Regions from separate parts of the Homo sapiens genome. Here region 1 is linked to region 2. The links are contacts of gene promoters, found by promoter capture Hi-C in human tissues and cell types (Jung and others, 2019). All regions are on one chromosome and are shown on one strand. The core of a region is centred on a gene start or on the middle of the fragment in contact, and the rest is flanking DNA. Distances in the headings are between cores, read along the strand shown. Region 1 overlaps PCP4 (Purkinje cell protein 4). Region 2 holds the start of PCP4 (Purkinje cell protein 4).

The links. Contacts are between HindIII fragments. The study calls those that stand out against the background at their distance.
Region 1: a fragment that was not itself captured here is called in contact with the fragment with the promoter of PCP4 in region 2 in 1 of the 25 tissues and cell types used here (thymus).

Annotation. Positions count from the first base shown.
Region 1 is chr21:39,906,438-39,912,006 of GRCh38, forward strand. The region is part of intron 2 of PCP4 (Purkinje cell protein 4); the gene reads left to right. Among named protein-coding and RNA genes, the nearest start is that of PCP4, 42 kb to the left of the region's middle. The HindIII fragment of the contact is 3,855 bases long and covers 1-3,178 here.
Region 2 is chr21:39,865,960-39,871,910 of GRCh38, forward strand. PCP4 (Purkinje cell protein 4) reads left to right here and starts at 1,479. Exons shown (of 3, transcript NM_006198.3): 1 at 1,479-1,551. The coding sequence starts at 1,543. RefSeq lists a silencer at 3,377-3,530. The HindIII fragment of the contact is 8,471 bases long and covers 1-5,436 here.

The DNA.
Region 1 (5,569 bases), core at 1-2,500, 40 kb after region 2:
AGCCATGATAGTTTTCAAAATTAAAACATCAAAGCAACATGTTCATTTATAGCCTCTTCATATTTCACCTGCCCTCTTCCTCACCCTTTCTCTTTCTCCCTCCTTCCTTCCTTCCGCTCCTCCTTCTTCCCCTTCCTTCCCCCTTTCCTTCCCTTCCTTCCCTCCCTCCGTCTTTTCTTCCTACCTTTCATCCTTTTCTTCCTTCTTTCTTTTTGAGATTGAGCAGTGGACAGCTTTAGATCAGCTGAAATAGAATTTCATTCCACATCATACAGAGAAAGCTTATACACCTTGGTGAAAAAGTAAAGTTATACATTATTCTCAATGAATTACTCTTAAAGATCTTCAAGATCTTGGCCATGAAGCAGCTTGAACCAGGAAAATGTGCATCCCTCTAGCCTTTGGAAACCTGCCCCAAGCAGGAGATATTCCAGGTTTCAAATGTTTCAGGTTCTGCTTGTCAATTACTTTTATGGAAATAGTATTTCTCACGCGCTTGAAAACACTTTTGCTCTTTTAAGTAGGTGAAACACTCATAATCTTATTTATAGAATTAATGTGCACAGCAGGCAGTTTTTCAGAAGCAAAACCCCACCTAGATCTCAGGCTGGGCCAAATGATAAGATGGTTTAAATTTGTAGGTTTCATATTAGGTACATCTGGGATTACAAAAGCACGGAAAAATGCTAATATTTCTCCTTGGAAAATAATGCTGTCAGTGGGCAGAGTGGGCTGAATTGTCCTCAAAGAGTAGATCTCCCTCTCAAGCTAGATGTGTTCTCCCCTCCACATGAGGCAGGGAAGAGTCAGCCTTGCAGCCCTGGGCGTGTCTCCAGGATACCCTTAGAGCAACCACAGAACATGCTTCGGACCCCGGGCAGAAGTCCCCAGGGTCACCCAAGAAAGCTCTCTAGCAGCCAATCTAGAACATAGCTCGGGGGAGATGCAGACCCAGAAAAGGAGAAACCAGAATCCCAGGGAGGCCTATCTGGAGGAGCGGACAGACAGGGGCTTTGGCCTGTTGAAAGGTACAGCTAAGCTGTGGCAACTTTGCAGAGACTAGTAGGTTGCTAGAATTAAGAAATAAAGTCCCTGCGTGGTGGCTCCCAGCACTTTGGGAGGCCGAGGTGGGTGGATCACCTGAAGTCAGGAGTTTGAGGCCAGCCTGGCCAACATGGTGAAACTCCATCTCTACCAAAAAATACAAAAATTATCTGGGCGTGGTGGCGGGCACCTGTAATCCCAGTTACTTGGGAGGCTGAGGCATGACAATCACTTGAACCCAGGAGGCGGAGATTGAGGTGAGCAGACATCGTGCCACTGCACTCCAGCCTGGGCAACAGAGTGAGACTCTGTCTCAAAAAAAAAAAAGTGCCTTCTAATCACTTCTACCCGTTGGACTTTCCCAGCCAAAACTACAGAGCAATGATTAGGTGGAGCAGGAGAAGAGAGGAGAGTGAATCTGAGAAGCAAGAAATGCAGGGTTCCATTGTACCAAGTGCCTTTTTCCAGTTGTTGCCAATGTACTTCCCTCCCTGGCCTTTGGGCCAGGTCACCCTGTTCCCCTGTTTGTCCCCACTAATTAAAAAATGTAGCTTATTATACGATAAGTGATTGCTGCTTCCCAAAGACAAAGTGGGAATGATTTTTGTATACAAATTCTGGATTGGCTTCAGAAAAAAAAAGCAAGAAAAGTGGTTTATTGAAACCATGCTTTCATGTTAACTGTGTAGTGTAATTGGCTGGCTTAGTATTTCTAAAGGAAAGAAAACTGTCAGATCTCTTTTTTAAGGATGACATATTTGACATTCCTGGAGCGATGAGGCTGTCCCTGTGAAGGTTAATGTGTGTTCCCCACAGTCGGTGTAAGCCCCTCATCCCTCCTCAGGTGTCATTAAGGGGACAAGGAGGTGGCCAAAGAGGAGACACAAGAGGAAGCTGGCTGGAAGGTGGGTGAGGGTGGATACAGAGCTGTTCACACCTCCACCCAGTCTGAACGGAAGGCCCCGCTAGATGGCAGGCCAACTGGGAAATGGGGAAGGGACTGGGCAGGCACGGTTCTCCCCTGTAAGCTGGGGTTTGTCAGACCAGGAGGGAGGAGGAGAGTAGCTTCCAGCCACACACCCACAGACTGTGGGCTTCCAGAAAGCTGCTTTCTCAAGGGCTCAGTGGCGCCCCAGGCTCTGCTCCCACTGAGCAGAGTCTCTGGATGACTCCCCAGCTGCCTCGGCCCAAAGGAAAGGTGGGGAGGAGGGTGGGAGTGCCCGCGGCTCCAGGTGCTCTCTGGGAGGCTGGAGTAGCTGCTACTGTGCCTGGGGCTGTAGGTGTTGGCCTGGGTTGGGAGGCAGGACTGAGGTCTCAGAGGAGAGGCTAAGCTTTGCCTCCACCCCTGTGGAGAGGCGCCAAGGAGCCAATCTGCTTTCATTCAGGTCCCTCTTGGATATCTTGGCTTCATAACCTTGAATTAAACTTCAAATTTGTGACTGCAGGATCAGCTGCTTAAAAATATGAGAAATGACCATCTCCTTATTTAAATTGCACGTATTTCCTTTTAAGTTCTTCTCTCTCCTCCCCCGACACAACCAGGGGAATTGCTCTTTTCTGCACCATGGTGAAGAAATGAAATCAGGGCCCCTTTAATGTCAAGTACATTCTGAACGTTCAAGAAGGAAGAAGAATAACAAGTACTGTGAGATCATTGAATTTAAAATGCAGCCATTTATAGACTTCACTATTTCCAGCATTAATTCGAAGGAGTAGATATTACAGTTATTATAATGACAATTTCTCATGGCTATTATGGCATATTGATCTGTTCTTTTACTATCGCTTTTTCCTCGGGCAGATCCTGTATCTGCTCAGGCTGAGCACACCGTTTTCTTACAGACTGTTGTTCCGTGTCGCTGCTCTGTTTTTCTGACATGTTATTTCCTTCAGTCTCATCATGAGCAAGAAGCCAAATTATTTGCATATCACTAGGTTTAATTTTAAAATTGTATTTCCTTTGAAAGTTACCCCCTTCTCCTATTCACTAAGGAGCAGATGCTTCTTATTCACCTGCTGGGATCTCCTTGCATTCTGGTCATGGTTTTTCTGTTCCAGTTGCCATTTCCTTTTTTCCTCTTGGGATGTGGAATGGTGTAGAACTGTGATCAGTGGAAATACGTATTGATTGGATAGACCAAGATATGGCTGGGTGTGCCGGGAGGAGGAACTGGGAAGTCAGCGACGTGGCCTCCATCACAACGTTTATGAAAACTCTCCCTTCAGGAACTTATGATTATGTGAAGGGGATGCTTGCTGCTGTTTTTGTGCTTGGCAAGCAGCTTCTTCAAAATTTCTTCCTTCCTTTCTTTTCTTTTCTTTTTTTTTTTTGACATGGAGTTTCGCTTTTGTTGCCCAGGCTGGAGTGCAATGGCGTGACCTTGGCTCACCGCAACCTCTGCCTCCCGGGTTCAAGCGATTCTCCTGCCTCAGCCACCCGAGTAGCTGGGATTACAGGCGCCCGCCACCACGTCTGGCTAATTTTTGTATTTTTAGTAGAGATGGGGTTTCTCCATGTTGTTCAGGCTGGTCTCAAACTCCCGATCTCAGGCGATCTGCCCGCCTCGGCCTCCCAAGCCTTCTTCAATATTTCTAAGGTGTGTTCTTCTCTCTCTACTATTCTACCATCCCAGACCCTGAAAACAATTGGAAATCGAATCATGCTCTGGCGTTCATTTAGACAGCAAAGTCTCCTCGGATGTCAGAGAGACACTTTAGTGGCCGGGCACTGATGTGAGTGAAGCAAGTCTCACTTCAGACTCCAGTTGCTACCAGTTCACCAAATCCAAGTGCAACAGACCTGGCCTGTGTAGGAGGGCAGACCTCGCTTCCCACAGCAGTCATCGCAAACGGGGCTAATCATCGTGGGACCATGATCCTCCTCTCACCCAACCTTTCTTACACTTCAAGTTTCGCTCTTTCCACACAAACATAAAGCTTTTGGCAGTTTGGATGGATGTGCACTCACCAAAATCCAATTTCCCACCAGTCCATTAAAAAAAAAAGTGTTTTTATAGTGAGCTTTGAAAATGGGCCAGGCCATGAGAAATGGTCCATGCAGATGCTGGGTTGTAGATTATAATGCATTTGCTGGTTGGGGAAAGTGCTTTGAAGGTTCCTCCCAGGTAACTCTGAGCTCAGTAATTGTTTCATAGAACTTTCAGAATAAGATAGAGCAATGTTTAGCATCCGATTTTGGCTGGGGTTTTCCATGGATTAGCTGATGCCAGGCTGCCTCCATGCCAGCAGGAGCTGGGCATTTTTGCTGACTGTTTTTAGGGTCTTCCTCGCCCTTTAGCCATTTCCCCGGTTGCAGGGCCCCTGAGCTGCTTGGCCTGAAGGCCTGCCAATAAACCTCATCCGACTCTTGGTTTGCTCATGAAGGGTGGGGCTTGGGTGAATTCCCATTTGTTCTGTCCCTGCCATTCTATGCTTTACTCATTTGTTCCTGGTTCACCTGCAGTGAATCATTTTATCTCTTTGGGTTGCAGCATTGTACGACGACATTGTCTTTGGGCGCTTGTCGAATTCTGACTCTTTATGATTCTGTGGCTGTCTCTTTCCTGGGACAGTGTAGGACATTTGACTCCTTTTGATTTTATTTTCTGTAAGCATCAAGGGGATATCGCACATGAGTCCACAGGAGAAATACGATGTATTTTCTTGGTGGAGGCAGTGGAGGGGAAAGTAAGGGCAATGGATGGGATCTGAATGGGATTGTCACCGGCTGTGAACACAGGATAACAAGTAGTTATTTTTGTTGAAATAACAACTATTTCAACAAAATGGGTGAAAATGGGAAAATTTAACATTTCCTCTAGAAAAACTGCATTTCCAACTATCTGACAGTAAAACAGGGAAACAGGGTTTATTTTCCTGGATCTTTCTGTAGCATATGTCCAGTTTAGAAAGGAGGCTGGCACCCCAGTGACTGGCCTCGAGGTGAGCACAGGTGTAGACAACAGTGGTCCACTCGACAGAAACACAAAAGAAGTGGGTGCCTCCCTCTGGTGGCAATTGGCATACATGAAATTAAAGTGTGACTGCGATCTTTCAGGCAGAAGGTAGCCAACATTCTTTAGAAACTTTATAACCTTTTCACCTGTGGGCCTCGTCAACGTGACCTGGTACCAACCAAGCACTAGGGGAAACCTCAGCCAGAGGTTGCCGGGATAGGTGCTCCCCAGCCCCATGGCAATGGGATACTGAGTTATAGCTGTTTCTTGAAAAAGCCTCACTTGTCTTTTCTATAAATCCAGCCTATTGTCACCTTAAATGATGGCTGTGTGTGGAAGAGTTGAACCGTAGTTTTGAAATTATAATCCAGACTTGTTTGTGGAAGAAGGAGATAGGGTTTTAGAAGACAAGATGAGCTACCTGCAGATGAGATATTCATTCTTATTCTATTCACACATCTGACAGTTGAACAAAACTATAAAACGTTGCCAATTACCTATCTGGGCTAGAAACGGCCTATTAGGTCACCCCGGCCATTCACAGCTGGTGAAATATGACTCCCTGTTGT
Region 2 (5,951 bases), core at 229-2,728:
AAGGCATCCCACGTGGGCCTTCCCAAGCGTGGCATTGGGGGCAAGGAGGAGGAGGGGAGTGAGAGAAGGAGGATGCTGTCTTCATTAGTTTGCAAATGATTTGTGTGGTCAGGATATGTAAATAAATAATTTATATACATATAAAAGAAACGAATATAACACACATATTTTATATAATATATATAATGTTCATTTCTGTCGCTCTGTGAAATATAGGTTATTTTATAATAACTCATGTATGAGACTCTGTCTTGCTGGCTGGTGTTCCCACGCTGTGGGCGAGGGTGCTGACCAGCTGGTGCTCCTGGCCAAGGCCTCTGAGGGCAGCCTGTGCTCGCCGGTGCCCATTTGGGGGCGCATGGCCTTCTGCTTGCTGTCCAAGGTGGACCTGAGGATGTGGTCGCATCGGTGACCTGGGCATGTAAGGAGGGCAGTCCAGGTCAGAGGGCGTGGGGCTGCTGAGCTGAGGAGAGAGGGTTGATGGGCTGGAGTCTGGTGGCCTGCTCTGCACAGGGAGATGAGGGGTGCTGGGGACGGGTGGCAAGACGCTTCAATCTTCTCGCCAGACCCTCTCAGTCCTGTACCGGGACTGGCAGAGTAACAGATGTGAATGTGCCTTCAGTCTGCACAACGCTTTTTTGGGACAGTTGAGGGCCCACTCTGATGCCTTGAAGACTCTTCAGAGCCTCACGATGTTGGGACTGAACAAAGGATGGAACCTCTTCCCGGAAAAGCTGAACAGGACTAAGGCAAGGAGACCTTCAACCAGGCCAGGGCCAATGCCCAGGCTCCTTCCTGGCCCCACTGTGGTTGTGAGGAGGGCACATCAGCAAGGCTGCTGGAGCCGCTCGCCTCCTTTGTTGAGGTCGTGGGGACCCATTCCCATGTCCCAGTCCATCTACTCTTATCCTTCCAGCTCAGGGTACAAGCAGGGCGACAGATATGGGATAGGGGAGAGACAGCAGAGATATTAAAGTCCTTGGGCTGAGTTTTGTGTTATAAAGGGCAAGGGAAACACAGCTCCTGGGAAAACCTGAAAGTGCGTGAGCGGGCACGCAGGTATTTTCAGAGCTCCTCTTCCCTTAGAAAAACAATCCTTCCCATTGACATTTGAAAGGTATTTTACATGCATGTAAATCTTGCACTCATTGAAAAACGCACAATGGCATCCCTGTGATGATCTTTGAAACTTTAGCTTTTACTTTTTACTTTTTTTTTTTTTTTAAAAGAGACAGGGTCTCGTTCTGCTGCCCAGGCTGGAGTGTATTACTTTTTAAAGAAATCGAGCATTTCCTTCCATCCTGGCGGAATTTGGAGCAGCGACCTAACGTGCCGTTCTCTTTTGCACCACTAGGTGGCCCCTGGTGCTCTCAGATGTCGGCCAGGCTTGCAGACAGGTGAATGCATCTCATTGGCTCCAGGGAGGCATGATGCCACCGGGCAGCTCTTTTTAAGAGAAAAGCCAGAACCGGTGGAGCAGCGACCCCTGAGCAGTGTTCTCTGTGCTGAGCGGCGGGACTGAGCTGTTGAGTTAGAGCCAACATGAGTGAGGTGAGTGATGCTTCGACCTGGAGAGGGAAACTTAGGAGTGAGAAGGGACCTCGGCTGAAGGATTAGTCTCAGGAAATGTGAGGGACTTAGCAGTGCTGAGGAACAAATTAATCCTGTAATTATTTGCTTGGAGAACTGACAGGATTAATCTCTTGGTTTGAATGGTAAGTGCAGAAATTGGTTAAGTTTGCAACTTCTACAATTAGCCTGAGGAGGAGAAAGGTTTGCTTTCTGATTGAATGGTGACTTTGAAAAGTGCTTTGGGTTTTAGAGCTCAGAAGAGAAAGCCAAATGTTTTATTCTCTTACGAAGATGCGTGTCTTTGCATGATTCCCGCGGTGATACCTTTCAGAATGTGAGTGGGCAGGTGGTCATCTGGTGAATGCAAGCCATGGAAGGGAAGGGGACAAGGTGGGGAAAGGGCTGGCCGTTGGGTGGCATTTCATGGCTCAGTTGTACAAACTACCTCTGCAGTTAATCAGAGCACCAGGGAAAGAAATGCAAAAAGTAGTAGGAACTGGGAAACATCCGTGTGTATAGATCTGTGGCTCTAAGACCGGAGGCGGCCCCGGCAGAAGAAGAGCTACAATTTTGCAAATCCAAAGTCACTTCTCTAAACTTGTTTATACAGAATGTGTTTTACTGGGGCCAACTGACAGCACGTTTGTTTTTCTAAAATCATCTTCTCCTTTTTTCTCATCTATGAAGCAGATTAGCGGTGGTACAACACCATTCTCTAATTCAACTCAATAACCGAGCCAAATGCATCTTCATTTCCTCTTGGTTGGCACTTAAATAATTACTTTTAAAGATCTTTTATCTTCTCTGTCTCTTTTTGACAGATGGATGATTCTTTTCTTGGAAGTCTAGGATAAAATTAACAACTTCAGAAATAAAATGCCTCCTCCCTGCTTTTATCTCTCTGATGGGTGATTTTTGATGTAAACATGACAAGAAGAAGAGCAAAGCACTATAAAACTTAGAAATGGGGTTTAGGACAAAGCCAGGGGTTTGAGGCAGGGAGAGACCAACTGTGGGGTGGAAGATGGGAATTCTCCCACCACCACAATCAATGGTACCTGTAACAGCAGCTAACACTTGCCTAATGGTCTGTGTGCCGACAGTGTCAGGCTGTCTCTGCATCTGTCACCTTCTTTGAACCTCTCAACAACTCCGTGCAGTGGGCACCATTATTATTCCCAATTGACAGATGAGGACACTGAGGCACAGAGATGGGAACTAAGTGGTTTGAGGTCACCAGCTAAAGAACAGTAGAGCCAAGACTTGGGCTGCAATGCTGGGTGGTTGACTGCCGGGTGAATCTTGATGTCTAAATGTGTATGGAATTTGCTGAACAGAGGGGATGGCAGAGGTTGGAGGAGGAGAGGGGAGGTGAAGAGAAAGAAAGAAAGGAGCTGGGGCTCTGAAATAGAGATGGAATGATGAGGATGAGACCTCCATTTCCCACATGCTAGGAGGAGGGGCTTTCTGCTGGACTCTACAGATATTTCAGAAGCTTCTGTGTCCACATCAGCTCACCTTGCTTGCAACAAGAAGGGATGGCTGCGTGGAGTGGTTTTTCTTTATATACAACTTATCCAATAAGAGTTTCCTATAGAAGAAGGACTTAGAAAGCAGCACAGCACTGAGGGGTGGCCTCTCGGGTCAAGTCAGCTACCCTGGGATTCTGGCTCAGTCATGCCGTCACTTGCTGAGGCTTCTGGCCAGCAAGGTGCTCATGAGCTCTCCAGGATGCTCAGCTCTGCTGGGCTCACTCAACTGTGCGGGTCTCCAGGGAGAAAGCGCGTGTTCCAGAGCTCACCTGTGATTAGGGTCACAGCCTGGTTCCTGCTGAACGGGTAATCAGGGCAGCTCTGTAGTCACCGCCCCGCCATGGCGCTTATCAGACACATTTGCAGGTTCTTGCAGGAGCTCTTGCCTTAGTTCCTTTAATGTGGATAAAAGCACACAAGGGGCACATCCCACTTTTCTGCCTCCCCTTGCTGCTCACAAAACCCCTCCCAGCTCTCTGCTCCTCATCCTCCCTCCTGCCCTCTTCTCCCCCTCACATCACATGAGGCCTCCTCCCTCTGACCATCAGCATGGCCACCGCTCCTGGCTGATCTCCAAGTTCCTGGGCATGTGCTCCTTGGAGAGCAGGAATTTGTCCTTTGACTAAACCTCAAATCTGCTTAAAATCTTTAGTAAAGTGCAACAGAAGCTCCTTTCTGGGTAGAGAACTCGATTCCCCCTTCATGGCACCCCTCAAGGGGTTTCTTTGGTTGGATGAATTAAATGTGGCTCCTAGTTTTAATAACTCTCAGGCAGAAATGGCTTTCAGATCATCATTTACTTGCATGTGTGACTAATTACCAAAGAAAGCCAGAGCAATGGATTTTGCCAGACTTTCCTTGACCTTAGGATTGATTGGGGTCTGGTGGGCCAATAGTGCCTGCTGCAGTGCCAGGGCTGAGTGCCTGCTGCAGAGGCTCCGGAGCTCATTAGCTGCTTACCCAGGCCAGTGGGCAAGCCTGCTGGCTGGAGAGGACCCCAAAGTGTCATATACTCCCCGGGGCCTGCTCTGCACTTCCAGGCCTCCCCGCCTTTAAGGGAAAGGTGGAGTGGCAAAGGGAGCCTCGAACTGGCTTTAAACTGGGCAGCTTTACAACAAGACGTCTTCTTTATTTCCTGTAACAACACTTTTTAGGGGAAATGACATGTGATAGAAAAGAACAGCTCAGGAAAGTAAAGTACAGCGAGGAAAGTAAAGTCCAAATTTAGGGTAATGTGAGAGAGAGGAGGTGGTTTGTGGGGGTGTCTGATTTACATTTTGGTATTAAAATATGTCAGATGTGCCTGGAGCAATCTATGAGATGAATTGGAAGAGAATGTAGCAGGGATCAGAATGCAGGCTTAAGTCTATCAGCTGGATCAGAAATCTTAACCATCACAGCCTCAGTTTACAAGGTGCATTCTTTCTCCCTCATCGTACTCACCCAGGCACAAGAAAAATGACTACCTTTGTTCAGCCACTTCATAGAGCTTTTGAAAAAAGAGTTCCTGGAATAATGACAGTCAGTCCCACGTTCTCCTTTAGGTGTCTATTTTTAAGTTGCTTTTCAAAAGAACTCATTTAGGAGAGCTAGGGGCAAGGTTGGAAGGCATAAGGACAAACATCTGAGCGTGAATTTAAAAACGTGACGCCCTTGCCCTGTTTAGGGTGCGGGTTGGAGACGTTCCAGGTCACGTAATCAAATGACAGCTATTAATTGGACTTGAGACCCCTTTGGGAAAAGCCTCTTCGTAACCCCGAGTTTCACGGTCATGGGCTGGGCTTTTTTCTTGCTTTGGCGTGGATGGGAAAGTGCAACTCAGTACAAGGGCTGTGGCTCTTTCTTTCGTCTAGACATTGGCCGCAGGGCAAGGCGATGCCCATCAAAGGCATGGTTTGAAAAACATCAAGGACATTTAAGGGTAAATCTTTAGATACACATGTCTGTTCTTAGCACCCAAACAGAATCCATGTCGAACTTAATGTATACGTTAAAACGTACAATAATCTCTAAAGGAAGAAGAAAGCTGTAAATGGCATTTTTCTTGACAGAGATTGCAAACGGGAGGCTACATGCAGTTAACTCGTGAGGTGAGGACATAGAAAAAACATGAATTAAAAAAATGTTTTGCCACTGATTTTAAAATATCATACATACAACAGTGGTTTGGGGCTTACATAGTTGACTCTCACGATTGCCCAGTGGAGGGACTAAGGTTAAAACGAAACAGATCCTAAGAAGAGAAAGATTATGGCTTTGAGCTTCTTACAACGTAAGGGTAAACTCAAACAGATGCTAATGGGTGGCTGATTAGATTTGTAAGGAGCTGTATATTTTAGACCAGTTGTTAAGCACAGATTCTGAGGGTGACTGCATAAAATGTGGGTTTTGCAAATGGTCTGCAAAACCCAGCAACAAAGGTCAAATGACAATTCAACTTCTTATGTAATTATAACCCCATTTGAGGGTGTACCTGCAGCAAGGACTCTGACAGATCAAGCAAGATCAGTTTTAGTTTCGTTGGACAACACCATGAAAGATACTCTTTCCTCTAATTGGGGATATTAAGTCCACATAGTCACCAGTTACAATCTGGGTTTGAAGTTCAACTTTTCCTAATAGAGAAGAGGTCAAAATTAAGCAGGAATATGTGTTTCCCAGGGCCGATGATTGTTAAGAGTTGCCATAAAACTTGTTTCCCCAGTCATGCATTCTATGAAGAAATGCTGTGGGGTTAAAAAGTCTCAGGTTTTCTCTTTTGAATTTTAAGAATGACACAATGCAAGATGTATATTTTTTTTTCAAAAAGAAAATAAATGACTCATTATTGATTTTATTAAAGGTTTA